Regions from separate parts of the Homo sapiens genome. Here region 2 is linked to region 1. The links are contacts of gene promoters, found by promoter capture Hi-C in human tissues and cell types (Jung and others, 2019). All regions are on one chromosome and are shown on one strand. The core of a region is centred on a gene start or on the middle of the fragment in contact, and the rest is flanking DNA. Distances in the headings are between cores, read along the strand shown. Region 1 holds the start of SYDE1 (synapse defective Rho GTPase activating protein 1). Region 2 overlaps RAB8A (RAB8A, member RAS oncogene family).

Region 1 (6,527 bases), core at 3,141-5,640:
TTTCCACATCTGGCAGGCAGCTGAGGAGCCCTCGGGTGCCCTCAGTGGTGGGGGGAACTCTGTTTGGGGGGTCCCGGGCCATGGCCTCCAGTACCACCTTATACAGGGGCTGGGTGATGAGTGGGGTGGGCAACTCTCGAAGATAATCCTTGAGGATGCCTGTGAACACAGGGTCCCCTCTGGTCAGGGCACCACTGGCTTCTAAGGCTAAGGAGGGCACAGCTAAGGGGGAAGAGGAGGTGGGTGAAAGCAAGGTCAGATAGGAGGACTGAGGTCCCAGAGGAGCCCCAAGGCCTTGAAGTGAGGCATTGAATGGGGGTGAGCAGGCAGGGGAGAGGGGGCCATGCTGACCAGTGATGACATTGATATCGGGGTACAGGTCCTCAGATAGGCAGACCGCTGCACTGTCCCGCTCAAAGGCATCCCGAAGCTCTTTCTTCACTGCCGCTGAGCCACAAAGACGGTACAGTCCCACTACCTGGGGGTGGGAAGAGAGAGTGAATGTCTTCTTGCCGGGGCCACAGACTAATCAGGGCCCAGTGGGGTGAGCACTGGAATTCTGGGCCAGGCAGCAATGGGCATTGTGGGCTGGGAGGTTGGAACTACCTTGACAACCTGGCCTTGTAAACCCTCTGCTTGGACTACTTGTCTTGGCTGCCATCTCCTTTGACTTAGGAAACTGACACTTCTTTGAGGAGGCTTTCCATGACTACCCCAGGTTTTGTTTTAAGCTCTCCCAGACCCTAGGTACACCCCACCCCAACTCCAGTCCCAGTTATAGTTTTACATTTGTGAATGACTAGAGTCGTATCTTTTCCCCCATCAGACTCTGAGCCCCAGGAGGGCTTGGATCCTGTTTTTAAATCAATGGATGACCCATGGGTTCTGCCCAGGGTGCTACAGTCAAGGGGGCGCCTTCTGCCCTTGTCTAGGTTGGGATTGGAGCTAGGAGTGGCTCAGGCCTGGGGGTAGGGGTCTGGCATCTGTACATAGGGTGTCCTGAAGAGTGGTCTGAGGTCTGGGGGCCAGAGGGTTGGGGTGGGGTGGGTGCTCACCCGCAGCCCTCGGCGCTCGATCTGCCCAACGCACTTCTGGATGATGAGGGGCACCTGGCCGGGGGGCCGCTCCCGCTCCACCAGCAGTGGCAGGGGCAGCCCAAAGACGCGGGGCTCAGCTGTGGCAGGGGCTTCCTGCTGCTCCGACAGGGTCAGCTTGGCATACAGCAGCCCCTGAGGCTCCAGGCGCACGGCCAGCTGTTGGGCCTGGCACCCTGAGGACACAAGGGGGCCTGAGCCGGGTGTGCTCTGAAGCTTCATGTACCCTGGCCTCGCTGCTCCAGGCCACACCTTCCGCCCGGAGCCCAGCCCCCTAGGCACTCTGCGGGGGGTGGCGGTGGGGTTTGGGGGTCCCTGCCCCTCCTCCCCTGCAGCCGCATGTCCTACCTCGGAAGACCGTGGGCAGCAGCACGGTGCCCTGGGCACAGGGCCGGTGCCTTCTCACGCCAGGGTCCCACGCAAGCACCAGGGCGCGCAGGAGCCTGGCGGCCTCCAGCTCCAGGTGGAAGGTGTGGTCCAGCCGCAGGAAGTCCGGCCCCCCTCGCAGTGGCCCTGTTCGGGCCCTGGCCTCCCCATCCACTTGCAGTAGGCAGCAGAGGTCCCTGGGGGTGGCCCCCGGCGCTGGCCGCAGCCCCCCGAGACCGTACAGGTGCAGGCTGAGGCGGCCCCAGAGTGCGGCCGGGGGTGCCCGGGCTGCGGGACCCACCTCGTAGGGCCGGAAGGAGGTGGGTGATGGGGGCCCAGCTGGGCGCTCCGGTGAGTCCCCGTCGCTGAGGTAACCGGCCCTCGGGCTCCGGGTGCCCCCAGGCCCTGCTGCCGGCCCGGGGCCCCCCACGCTGCTGTCCAGGTGGTAGCGGCTGATGACGGAGCCCGCAGGGGCAGCCCTCTCGCGCTCCCTGCCAGCCCGGGGGCCTCGCAGGCTCAGGCGGCGCCGCAGTTCCGGCAGCTTCTTCATCTTTATGGAGAGGCGCCTGGCGGGGCCCGGGGACTTGGTGCGGGAGGCTTTGGTTGGGGGGCTGGCGGGGGCTGCACCTGTGTGGAGAGCAGACTTCAGGGTCCAGGAACCTGGGCTTAGGGGAGGGGGGTGAGGCTGGTGCTCCCCTGAAGGGAAGGAGTGTGAGGCTGGTGTTCCCCTGGCGGGGAGGAGGGTGTGAGGCTGATGCTCCTCTGGGAGCATCTGACGGGGTGGGGATGTGAGGCTGGTGCTCCCCTGAAGGGAAGGAGTGTGAGGTTGGTGCTCCTCTGGGAGGAGGGAGTGTGAGGCTGGTGCTACCCTGAAGGGAAGGGATGTGGAGCTGGTGCTCACCTTGGGGAAGGGGATGGGAAGCTTGTTCTTACCTTGGGGGGCCAGGCCCTCTGACTCAGCTGAGCCAGGCTGTGGCCCCGGGGGCTCAGGTGCTGGAGGTCTGGGGTCTTCCTCAGGGATGGGGTTGTACCAGATCTCGCCGGCGGGCTCCCCAGTGCCAGGTACCCCAGGCCCTAAAGAGGTGTCCTCAGCTGGCTTGGCCCCACCCAGCACCCATCGGCGGCTACTGGGCTCCAGGCTTTGCAGGTAGGCTCCCCGTGCAGGGCTCCTTGATGCCTCGGGGCTGGAGGGCCCCTCTGCTCCGGCCTGGGACCCTTCGGGAGCCTGGGGCTCTGGCTCTGGAGGGCTGGGCTCTGGGCGCTGGGCTGGGTGGCCTGGCAGAGAGCAAGGGGAGTGAGACCCACCCAGCCCCTCACTGCCTGCAGAGCAGCCCTGTGCAATTGATCAGTGGGTGGGATGCTGTGTACGGCCCTGGCCGGCCCCTGATAAGTCATGGTTCCTTGGATCCTGCTGTTTTGTTTGGAATAGGCAGCCACAGGCTAGCGATCTCAGTTATCAGCTTAGAGCACCCCCTACTCAGTCCCTGGCATCCCAAAAGGGGACTCCATCCCTGCAGCCTCAGGGTTCTAAGTCAGGCTTCCTGGGGCCCGTAGGTACTGCGTTCCAGTCTCCACTTCCTCTACCCTCTCAATAACCGTGGCATGGAGCTTTGCACCTGCGTGGCCTTGGGCAAGTCGCTTCCCTCTCTGAGGCTCAGTATCCTCCTGTGAAATGGGGGGATGTGATTTCCATGTCCAGGGAGGCTTCCAGGAGCCTTTTGGAAAAGTATACAGCCCACAGCAGGCACTACGTGCTCAGGAGTGAGGAGCTGGGTTTTCTATTCCCTGCAGCACAGTCACTCCCAGTCCCCTGCCCCTTTTACCCTCCCTCCTGTCTTCCAAACTCTGTCGCCATCCTGGGATGGGCCCTTGTCCCTCAGCCCAGGCCAGACCCCCCACGCTCAATGCTTTGGGACTTCCCCTTCCCTCCCTCCTCTCCTGTCTCATGTCCTGGGCTGTTTCCTGTGTGTGTTTGTGTTTGGGCATCTCTGTCCCTTCTCCCTTCCCTGGGAACATTGGGAATCTTTGGGAAGGCCTGGGGGGAAGGGGTACGTCCATGGAATGGTCTGGCCTTCCTCCTTTAACTCCTTCCTTCCTGGGTCCCCCTATCCCACGCAGCTGTTTCTCTAAGGTTTTTACTTGCTACCCTGCTGAACTCCTCCTCTGGCCACCTCTGATGTCCACCCTCTAGGGTCTCTGTTTGTAGCATAGTCCAAAGAGCTGTTTAAGTCGATGGCCCTGGGCACATGACCCAATTGCTCCGTGCCTCAGTTTCCCCATCTGTATAAAAGGGACAGTTTCCTGGGGCTAAGGCAGGCGCAGTTGCCGTCACTGTTAGTAGGTGGGAGGCGGAGGGGGCAGCTACTCTGATTGACGGGCCGCCCCTCTCTTTCCTTTGCAGGAGTACGCCTCCCATCTCCCATCCTGCGCCTCCAGGGCTCCCGATGCCCCTTGCCCAGCCCGACTGGGCCCCAGTGTCCCGGCCTCCCAGCCCCTCCTCCCCTCCACCCTCCAGGCCCTCAGTCGCGGCCCCATTTCCTGTCGTGGGCGAGGCCCCCTCCCGGGCCTCCCAAGGAGCCCGCAGCGCTGGCATCCCCGGCCAGCAGCACATAACGGTCCGCGCCCCCCTCCCTCCCAGCCCCTTCCTTCCAGGACCCCTACCCTCCCCTGGCTGGAGGCACCCCAGTCTGCAGCGGGGTGCGGGGGGCTCCCCCTGATCCCCCCCACCGTCTGTCCTCGGGGCCCTGGGACCCCGCTCCCAGGCCGGGTGGGGCTCGGCGCCCCCTGTTCCCCACCGATCTCCGCTTACCGCGCTCCTTGGCGTCCGACTTTTTCCGGGGAAGTTTCTCCCGGCCCCGCAGGCGGGAGAAGGTTTTCCTGAGTAGCGGCTCGGCCATGCTGCGGCCCGGGCCGGGCCGAGCCGAGTGCGCGCCCCGGGCTCCGGCCGCGCCGCCCCGCGCCCTCCCCGCCCCGCCCGGGCCTCCCCGCCCGCCCCCCGCCCCGCGCCAGCAGGAAGCACATTCCGGGAATGCTTGGCCCAAACTTTTTTTTTTTTTCCCCTTTCCCGCGGCCCGAGCGGGCGATGCTGGGAGATGTAGTTGCCTGGGGCCGGGAGGGGTTGGAATGGGGGCTCCGGGTGCCCGGATCCGCTCCAGCTTCGATGGGACGTGACGATCGTGGCGCAGGCCCGATCCCTTGTCTTCCACCTCACCCACCCTCCCTGGATGGGACTCTGGGTGATGGCATCCAGGAAGTTCTCTTGGGTCTGTCTCCAAATCGCAGCCTCCACGTATCCTCTCTCTCCTTGCCAGGTACTGCTTCAACCTGGTGCAAGCCGTAGTGTCATTCGTTTCAATGACCGTCCCCACTACCCACCCCACCCCAAGCTTCTTCCTTGGTCTCCCCATGCCACTCTTTCCCCACTCAATTCTCTCACCTCCAAATTCCAATTACTACTGCTGTTTGACAAACCATCCCCAAACGTAATGATGTAAAACAACCATGTCGTGATTGTGAAAGGAAAATAAATCTTGAGACCTCCAAATCACTGAGCCAAAAGGAAGAAGTCAAACTGGTAACTGTGTAGGACAAACCTGCCTCCCATTCTATTCCTAAGTAAGATAGCTACAAGGTTAAAAAAGCTAGCTGGGCGCGGTGGCTCACTCCTGTAATCCTAGCACTTTGGGAGGCTGAGGCGACGGATCACTTGAGGTCAGGAGTTCGAAACCAGGCTGGCCAACATGGTGAAACTCCATCTCTACTAAAAATATGAAAAAGAAAAAAAATTGGCCAGGCATGGTGGGTGGGCACTGGTAATCCCAGCTATTTGGGAGGCTGAGGCAGGAAAATTGCTTGAACACGGGAGGTGGAGGTTGCAGTGAATCAAAATTGCACCACTGCACTCTAGCCTGGTCATCAGAGCAAGATGCCGTCTAAAAAAAAAGAAGAAAAGAAAAGAAAAAAAAAGCTACATACCTCCCCCACAATTTGCCTACAAGGAAATTCCTTATGGATGAAGGACAGGCAGAACTCAAAATTGTCCCTCTGCTCACATGAGACAAACACATATCTGATCGCTTCCTTACCTATTTGTTTCACTAAGCCAGACTAAGGCATAAGTGACTATCTCTGTAAATTGCATATTCAGAAAGGCTAGTCAGAAACTCGAAAGAATGCAATTGTTTCTCTCTTATCCACCTATAACCTGGAAGCCTTCTCCCTACTTTTGAGTTGTCCTGCCTTCCCAGACCAAACCCATGTGCATCTTACATATATTGATTGCTGTCTCATGTCTCCCTAAAATATATAAAACTAGACCAAGGTGGAGTGCAGTGGTACCACCACAGCTCACTGCAGTCTCAGCCTCTTGGGCTCAAGTGATGCTCCTGCCTCAGCCTCCCGAGCAAGTGGGACTATAGGCATGTGTCACCATACCTGGCTAATTTCCCTACTTTTTGTAGAGATAGAGTCTCATCATGTTGCCCAGACTGGTCTCAAACTCCTGGGCTCGGCTGGGTGCGGTGGCTCACGCCTCTAATCCCAGCACTGTGGGAGGCCAAGGCGGGCGGATCACCTGAGGTTGGGAGTTCGAGACCAGCCTGACCAACATGGGGAAACCCCTTCTCTACTAAAAACACAAAATTAGCTGGGGGTGGTGGTGCATGCCTATAATCCCAGCTACTCGGGAGGCTGAGGCAGGAGAATCTCTTGAACCCGGGAGGCGGAGGTTGCAGGGAGCCAATATTGTGTCACTGCATTCCAGCCTGGGCAACAAGAGTGAAACTCCGTCTCAAAAAAACAAAACAAAAAAACAAAACAAAACAAAAAACCCTCCTGGTCTCAAGTGATCTGCCCGCCTTGGCCTACCAAGTAGCTAGGATTACAGACCTGAATCAAGGTAGTGGCCCTGACTACCCTAGTTTATGTTGTCAGGAGCTTCTAAGTCTGTGTCACAGGCATGTCCATAACCTTGGCAAAATAAGCTTTCTAAATTTATTGAGACTTATCTGAGATACCTTTTGGTTTACATGATGCTCACAGATGCTGTGGTTCAGTTTGGACAGGGGA
Region 2 (6,828 bases), core at 406-2,905, 1.0 Mb before region 1:
TCAGAGAGGCCAAGCAGCCGGCCCCATGTCACACAGCCAATGCCAGGGCTGGGGCCAGGGTTCTAGCTGCTACTCTGAGCAAATGCACATTTTCTGAAATGCTTTCTGGCAGCTTCTATGGCTGTATCAATCAAGCCCCCGCACCTGGGATGCTGGGCGGGTCTAGCCTATGGGAGGTGAGTGAGGCTGAGATATTTACCCCCCGACCTTGGCTTTCCTCCTTCCCTCCCTGGCTCCTCTGCAAGAGGCCCCAGCTGTTGTCCTGGGACCTTCTGCTTTGACACTTTTTTTTTTGTTTTTTTTTGAGATGGAGTCTCGTTCTGTCTCCCAGGCTGGAGTGTAGTGGCATGATCTCGGCTCACTGCAACCTCTGCCTTCAGGTTCAAGCGATCCTCAACCTCCCGAATAGCTGAGATTACAGGCATCTGCCACCATACCAGGCTAATTTTTTGTATTTTTAGTAGAGACAGAGTTTCGCCATGTTGGCTAGGCTGGTCTCAAACTTCTGACCTCAGGTGATCTGCCCGCCTCAGCCTCCCAAACTGCTGGGATTACAGGCATAAGCCACCTCGCCTGGCCCTGACATTTCAACTATTTTTGGGCTCCAGAAACAGGCCGTGCCTGAGGTGGTCGCAACTCGAGGCCGTCACCAGCTGCAGGCACTTCACCACCCTGTCTGATGTTGCCCAAACTCTGCCCTCATACCCAAAGGCAGCTCCTTCGTCAAGTCTCCCTGGGTCCCCATGGAGCGGACCACGCTTCCTGGAGGACGGGGACACTGGAAACTGCTGTCTTCTTCCACCAGCTCAGACTTGGTCTCTGGAACCTACTGCGCCACTCCCTGCCTCACTTCCCATGAACCAGAAGGTGGCTCCTGCCCGCTGGCCAGAAACAGAGACCTTTCACAAAGACCAGGCTCTCCTCCTCTCCACGGATGAAGACAGCTTTCCCAGCTGGGGTGCAGCCCTGCACTGGCAAATTTGGCAGCACAGCCCTCTCAGGGTCACTGGGGAGGTGAGCCCAGTGCAATGACTCACAAATGATGGGGTGGCCTCTCGGCCTGGCCTGGGAGGTCCATGAGTCCTGGGTGGACAGTGATATGCCCTTTTGCTGTGGTTTTATAGATGGGAAAAGTTCTCTGGCTGTGCCTCAGACCTGAAGCCCCACATGGTTAGTTATAGAAAGCTGCAGGTGCCGGCAGCCAGGAAGGCTTTGGGGGTGAGGTCAGCTCTTTGGGGAGCAGAAGATGAAGATGCTGGCTTTGGGAGGGGAGGAGGGGTTGGCCTACTTCTCACTGCTCTATGGTTCAAGGTCTGAACACAGGTCGTTTGTACCAGGTCACACCCTGCTCCGATATAGCTCAAAGTACAACTGACGCCTGCTCACCACACCCTCCAACTACAAGGGTCACACCTGTGCTAGACCCTTCCTTCTCTAGAAAGCACCCAACACTCATGGTGACCACAAGCTTGGATATCCTTTCTCTTATAACCATGACACTGGCCAGATCCAACAGCCTAGCTGGAGGGATGGGCTCCGAGGGGCTCCGGGGTGGGGCCAGGCCAGTGTGTGGTCCCTGGGGCCGGCTGCTTGCATCTCAGTCCCTGCTCCCACCATGTCCCTGACTAGGAGGCTGTGGGCAAGTGGCCTGTATGTGTCTCTGCACCTTGGCCTTCTCATGAGTAAACCAGAGGGCTCTGGGACAAGGACTGAAGCAGGGACAGTGGGAGGAGCCGGAGGGCCTCACCTCCTCAATGTTGCGAATCCAGTTCCGGATGTTGTCGAAGGACTTCTCGTTGGTGATGTCGTAGACCAGCATGATGCCCTGCGCGGGGAGAGAAGACACAGGTGCCTGATCGGCTGCAGGCTCTGGAAGGGAGGCCTCAGCGGCACCAGAGAACAGTGGTGGGGAGCCCAGCACCCACTGCACAGCCAGGCCCATTAGCTGCCGCCCTCCCCACCTCTGTGGAGCCCCGGAAGCCAGCCCCCTCCTCTCCATCCCTGTGGCCCTTCTTTCTGCTGGGTTCTGGCACCAGCCTTGTCCTGCCCCCCGGGCCGCTGAGGTGACCCTTCTGCCTCACAGGCCAGCCCCTGCCACGCACTCGCTGACAAGCCCGGCTGGCTCCCCTCATGGCCCACGGGGTGGTGCAGCCTGACGGTGGGAGCCGGTCCACAGGCCCACTGCCAGCAGCACTCCCCTCACGCTGACCCTCCCCTGCAATCGGCCTCCTCTTCACCCCTTGCTCACCCCACGCTCTGCCTGAGCCACCTACCAGGCACAACTGAGCCCAGGAAGTCCTGACCCGACATCCACACAACTTCCAGTGACCCCACCACAGAGGGAACCGGCTGTGTGAAGATGGAGCCGAGAGTGCCAAGGCCCTTCCAGTTCCCTAACCTAGACGTGAGCAACTGGGAGACGGCTCGTGGGTCCTGGAAGAGCTTCGGGGCAGCCCCGCCTCAGCCTGGGTCCACAGCCTCGCTACTGCTGTGGACAAGCGCAAACATGCCCATGCGATGCAAGGGGAAACTGAGGCACAGAGACGTGACCTTTAAGATTCAAGCACGGGGGGCGGGGGGGGGCTAACTCCAAAAGCACTGATGACACCTATCCTCTCAGCAATATCCCTGGGCCTTTTTCAGCCCCAGAACCCACATGTGGGGGCCACCCTCTGACGGTCTGTGTGGTTCTCGATGTCCTTGTGGAGTGCCCACAGCGGGCCAGCCTGCAGTGCCATCACAAGTCCCCCTTTGTTGCCGGGCATCCTGGGCTCCAAGGCACGTGGCCTGCTCATGGCCAGGCCTGGATTTCTTCCTTCCTCCTCGCTACCTGCTCCCCAGGCCCAGCCCTGCATCTGTGGCACCTGAGGGCACTGATGACTTCTGCTGCTGGCCAAGTTGTCTGGGGCCATCCAAGTTTGCAGAATAAGGACACGGGCCATGTGGTAATGGTGAGACAGATGTGGGTGCAAGAGTGTGGGACAAAAACGACACAGATGGGGCAAGAAAGTCACTGCAACCCCAAATCCTCCTGGGAATTCAGGGACATGAATAATGGCCTCACAGTCAGCCGCAACCATGGCGAAGAACCTCAAGGCTGCAGTGGCCCATGATGTCTGCCATGCCCCATCCACGGTGGGCACACCCTGTGACTGTGACATGGTCAGGGACAGGGGGCGTGGGGCCCTTTATCCGGGGACTGGACCCTCTGAAAGCCCAGGATTCCTGCCTTCACCACTAAGTTGGTGACATGTGCCTAAGACTCAAATTCCTGGATTATACCTATTTCAGGGAGCTGAGGGGAGAACCTGGACGTTAGTGGGGCAGTGGGTAGAGCTCTCTCTTAGAATCAAGCAGAAGCACCTGGAAAACACTGAGCCAGCCATCCTATTCCAGGTTTTCCTGGAAACACCCCTCAGGGCTCCAAGTGACTATTTTCCAGGGCCCCGTCTGGGCAAACCTCACCATGGGTCTCTAGGCATCCAATGCTTCCCAAACTTGGGATTTTGAGGCCCAAGGGTCTATGAGCATGCTGACAGAGATGAGGACACAGCTGCAATGGTGGTGCTGTCCCATATGACTGATACTGGCTACACAAGGCTCTAGGGCATCAGAAACATAGCTGCTTTGACCCAAGGAGCTGGATTTTCAATGTTTTTTAAAATTAATTAATTAATTAAGTAGTTAAGCGACGGATACTTGCTCTGCTGCCCAGACTGGAGTGCAGTGGTGCAACCTCGGCTCACCGCAACCTCCGGCTCCCAGGTTTAAGCGATTCTCCTGCCTCACCCTCCTGAGTAGCTGGGATTACAGGCATCCGCCACCACGCCCAGCTAATTTTTGTATTTTTAGTAGAGATGGAATTTTACCATGTGGCCAGGCTGGTCTCCAACTCCTGACCTCAAGAGATCTACCCACCTCGGCCTCCCAAAGTGCTGGGATTACAGGCATCAGCCACTGCGCCTGGCTGGATTTTCAATGTTAATTGGGTAAATTCAAATAGCCACATGCAGCCAGTGGTGGCATCTGTTCAGGTTGGCCTGGGTCTAGGAGGATGGAAAGCCACGATCATCTTGGTGCTGGTTGAGGATGTGGGTGCTAGAGACAAACAGCCCAGCCCAGCCTAGCCATTTACCTGCTGAGTGAACTTCAGCGGGGCAGGCCACCGGGCCAAACCTCAGGTTCTTTGTTATAAAACAGGGATGACAATGGCGCCTGCACAAAGAGGTTCACAGCCAAAATGCAATGAGATAATCTGAGCTAAGACCTGGGCCCACTGCCTGGTGCAGGGGAGGGCTTGGTGGTCAGGGCAGGGTGGAAGGTGGCTATTTGGGCCCAGAGAAGATCGGGACAGGCCCCAGGTCACAGTTTTCTCCAGAGGCTGAAGCTCCCCAAGACCCCAGTGCCCTCAGGCCGCCTGCCCACCCTCCACCAGAGAACTGTGAGGTGGGGGGAAAGAAATACATTAATTTTACTGAGGCACACTAAGGCTGCAGCCCACACGAGTGGGTTGCCATGAGGTTTCGGATGCCGTGTGGGATGCTCTAAACACATAATGCCTCCTTCCATCTCCACCCTCCACAAGTCTTTCCTGAGCAACTACTGCAGACCCAGCAGGTTCCCCGGGGCCAGGCAGATGGCAGGGACCAGGATGTGGCGCTGCCCTCATCGAGGAAACAGGCAGCTGCCTGAGCAATTAAATGATGGGGTATGCGGAGGAAAGAGTGGGGAGCAGAGGGACCTGGGAATGGGGAGAGGCAGCCGTTTATCCTCAGCACAGCCCGAGACACAGTGCTGTGCTCCGTTCCCTTTTCCAAGTCAGGAGATGGAGCTCAGTGGGCAAGCCAGGGTCTCAGGTCAGGTCCAGGGGCTCCACCTCCTGCTCCCTCTACCCCTGAATGCCCTGCCATGTACACACAGGGCCCCTGACACAGGACCTCGTCCCATCCCTGGCCGCCTTCTGCATCTAGTTAAGGCCTGGCCCAGAGAAGGTGCTTGAGAAATGTTTTGAGGGATGATGACTGAGTCTTCCCATCACGTCATCCCGCCTCAGGCCTGGGTGACGGATATAACGGCCGACAGCCCAGGGCAGGTCAGCTCCTGGAAGATCTTCAAGCTTTTGGTAGCAAATTTCAGAGACAGATGCAGGTCATGTGACAGCTCCTAAAAGTCGGGGCATGCCGGCTTTAACTGCACTGAGCTCACCTGGAAGAACCGGCTTCCTGTGTCTTTCTTCATTCCCAAAGAATTATGTTTCCACTTTATTTAAACCTTGCATTGTCTCTGCAGCCAGAAGGGGAGGTATGTACATGGGGGTAGGCCGGGGCACAAAGCCTGTTCCTAAGACTAACTTGGGACCAAGGAGCCCTGAGGAGTTGGGGCACGGGCTCCACAGAAACATCTAGGCTTCGGTAACCAATGCACAGTGACGCTCCCATGTTGACTTAAAAAGCAGATAAAAACAACCAAACAAAAAGTCCCTACCATTGCACCCCTGTAGTAGGCCGTTGTGATCGTCCGAAACCGTTCCTGACCGGCTGTGTCCCTAAACATGAAGAGAAGGGATATTAGCAACATTAAAGGAAAATAACTGTCCTCAGTAGGAGACAAGGAGCATCTACCCGGGATGCCTGGCTTTCTCACCGTTCAGCCACTGTGATACCTTCTTCTGCTAAGGCAGCACCTTCTAATCTCCCTATTATTACAGGGAAGGACACTGTGGCCTGGAGGGGTCATTTGATGTGGCAGAGCCATGATGGGATCCCTGACCCATGCGCCTTCTCCTCTTCTGCACCTTTGCTTCCAGGGAATTCTCCCTGGAGTTTCTGGTTCACAGAAGAGCCAGTCATGTGGCTCAGGAACATAGCTCTTGCTGTTGAGGGTGGCTGGGACTCAGGAAAAGCTTTCAGGCCTGCCATCTTGGTTTGAATGATGGGGAAAGTCCCTCCTCATCTGCATGACAAGGAACACAGGGCCTATTGCCCGGGAGGTGATGCCTGGGTAAGACATACCCATGCCCAGTCCAGCTCCTGGCTTGAAGGGTACTTAGTGTTTGGTTTAAAGGTAGGTAACCTAACTGGCCGGGCGCAGTGGCTCACATCTGTAATCCTAGCACTTTGGGAGGCCGAGGCAGGTGGACCACCTGAGGTCAGGAGGTTGAGACCAGCCTGGCCAACTTGGTGAAACCCCGTCCCTACAAAAAATACAAAAATTAGCCAGGCATGGTGGCACGTGCCTGTAATCCCAGCTACCTGGGAGGCTGAGGCAGGAGAACTGCTGGAACCCAGGAGGTGGAGGCTGCAGTGAGCCGAGATTGCACCACTGTACTCCAGCCTGGGTGACAGAGCAAGACTCCGTCTCAAAAAAAAAAAAGGTAACCTAACTGGCCTGGTGCAGTGGCTTACATCTGTAATCCCAGCACTTTAAGAGGCCGAGGCGGGTGGATCACCTGAGGCCAGGAGTTCGAGACCGGCCTGACCAACACAATGAAACCTCATCTCTACTAAAAATACAAAAATTAGGCGGGCATGATGGCGTGGATCTGTAGTCCCAGCTACTTAGGAGGCCGAGACACAACAATCGCTTGAACCTGGGAGGTGGAGGTTGCAGTGACCTGAGATCGTGCCGCTATATTCCAGCATGGGTGACAGAGTAAGACTCTGTCTCAGGAAAAAAAAAAAAAAAAGCCAGGCGTGTTGGCTCACTCCCGTAATCTCAGCACTTTGGGAGGCTGAGGCCAGCAGATCACCTGAGGTCAGGAGTTTGAGATCAGCCTGACCAACATGGTGAAACCCTGTCTACTAAAAATACAAAAGTTAGCCAGGCATG

What was found. Contacts are between HindIII fragments. The study calls those that stand out against the background at their distance.
Region 2: a fragment that was not itself captured here is called in contact with the fragment with the promoter of SYDE1 in region 1 in 1 of the 25 tissues and cell types used here (H1 embryonic stem cells).

What each region holds. Positions count from the first base shown.
Region 1 is chr19:15,105,264-15,111,790 of GRCh38, reverse strand. It overlaps SYDE1 (synapse defective Rho GTPase activating protein 1), which reads right to left and starts at 4,390. Exons shown (of 8, transcript NM_033025.6): 1 at 4,270-4,390; 2 at 2,394-2,735; 3 at 1,443-2,087; 4 at 1,056-1,270; 5 at 352-478; 6 at 1-159. The coding sequence starts at 4,357. RefSeq lists an enhancer at 2,154-2,704. The HindIII fragment of the contact is 3,798 bases long and covers 1,847-5,644 here.
Region 2 is chr19:16,120,467-16,127,294 of GRCh38, reverse strand. It overlaps RAB8A (RAB8A, member RAS oncogene family), which reads right to left. Exons shown (of 8, transcript NM_005370.5): 3 at 5,485-5,545; 4 at 1,748-1,825. HSH2D-AS1 (HSH2D and RAB8A antisense RNA 1) reads left to right here. Exons shown (of 2, transcript NR_199156.1): 2 at 308-5,456. Among named protein-coding and RNA genes, the nearest start is that of RAB8A, 12 kb to the right of the region's middle. The HindIII fragment of the contact is 7,709 bases long and covers 1-5,509 here.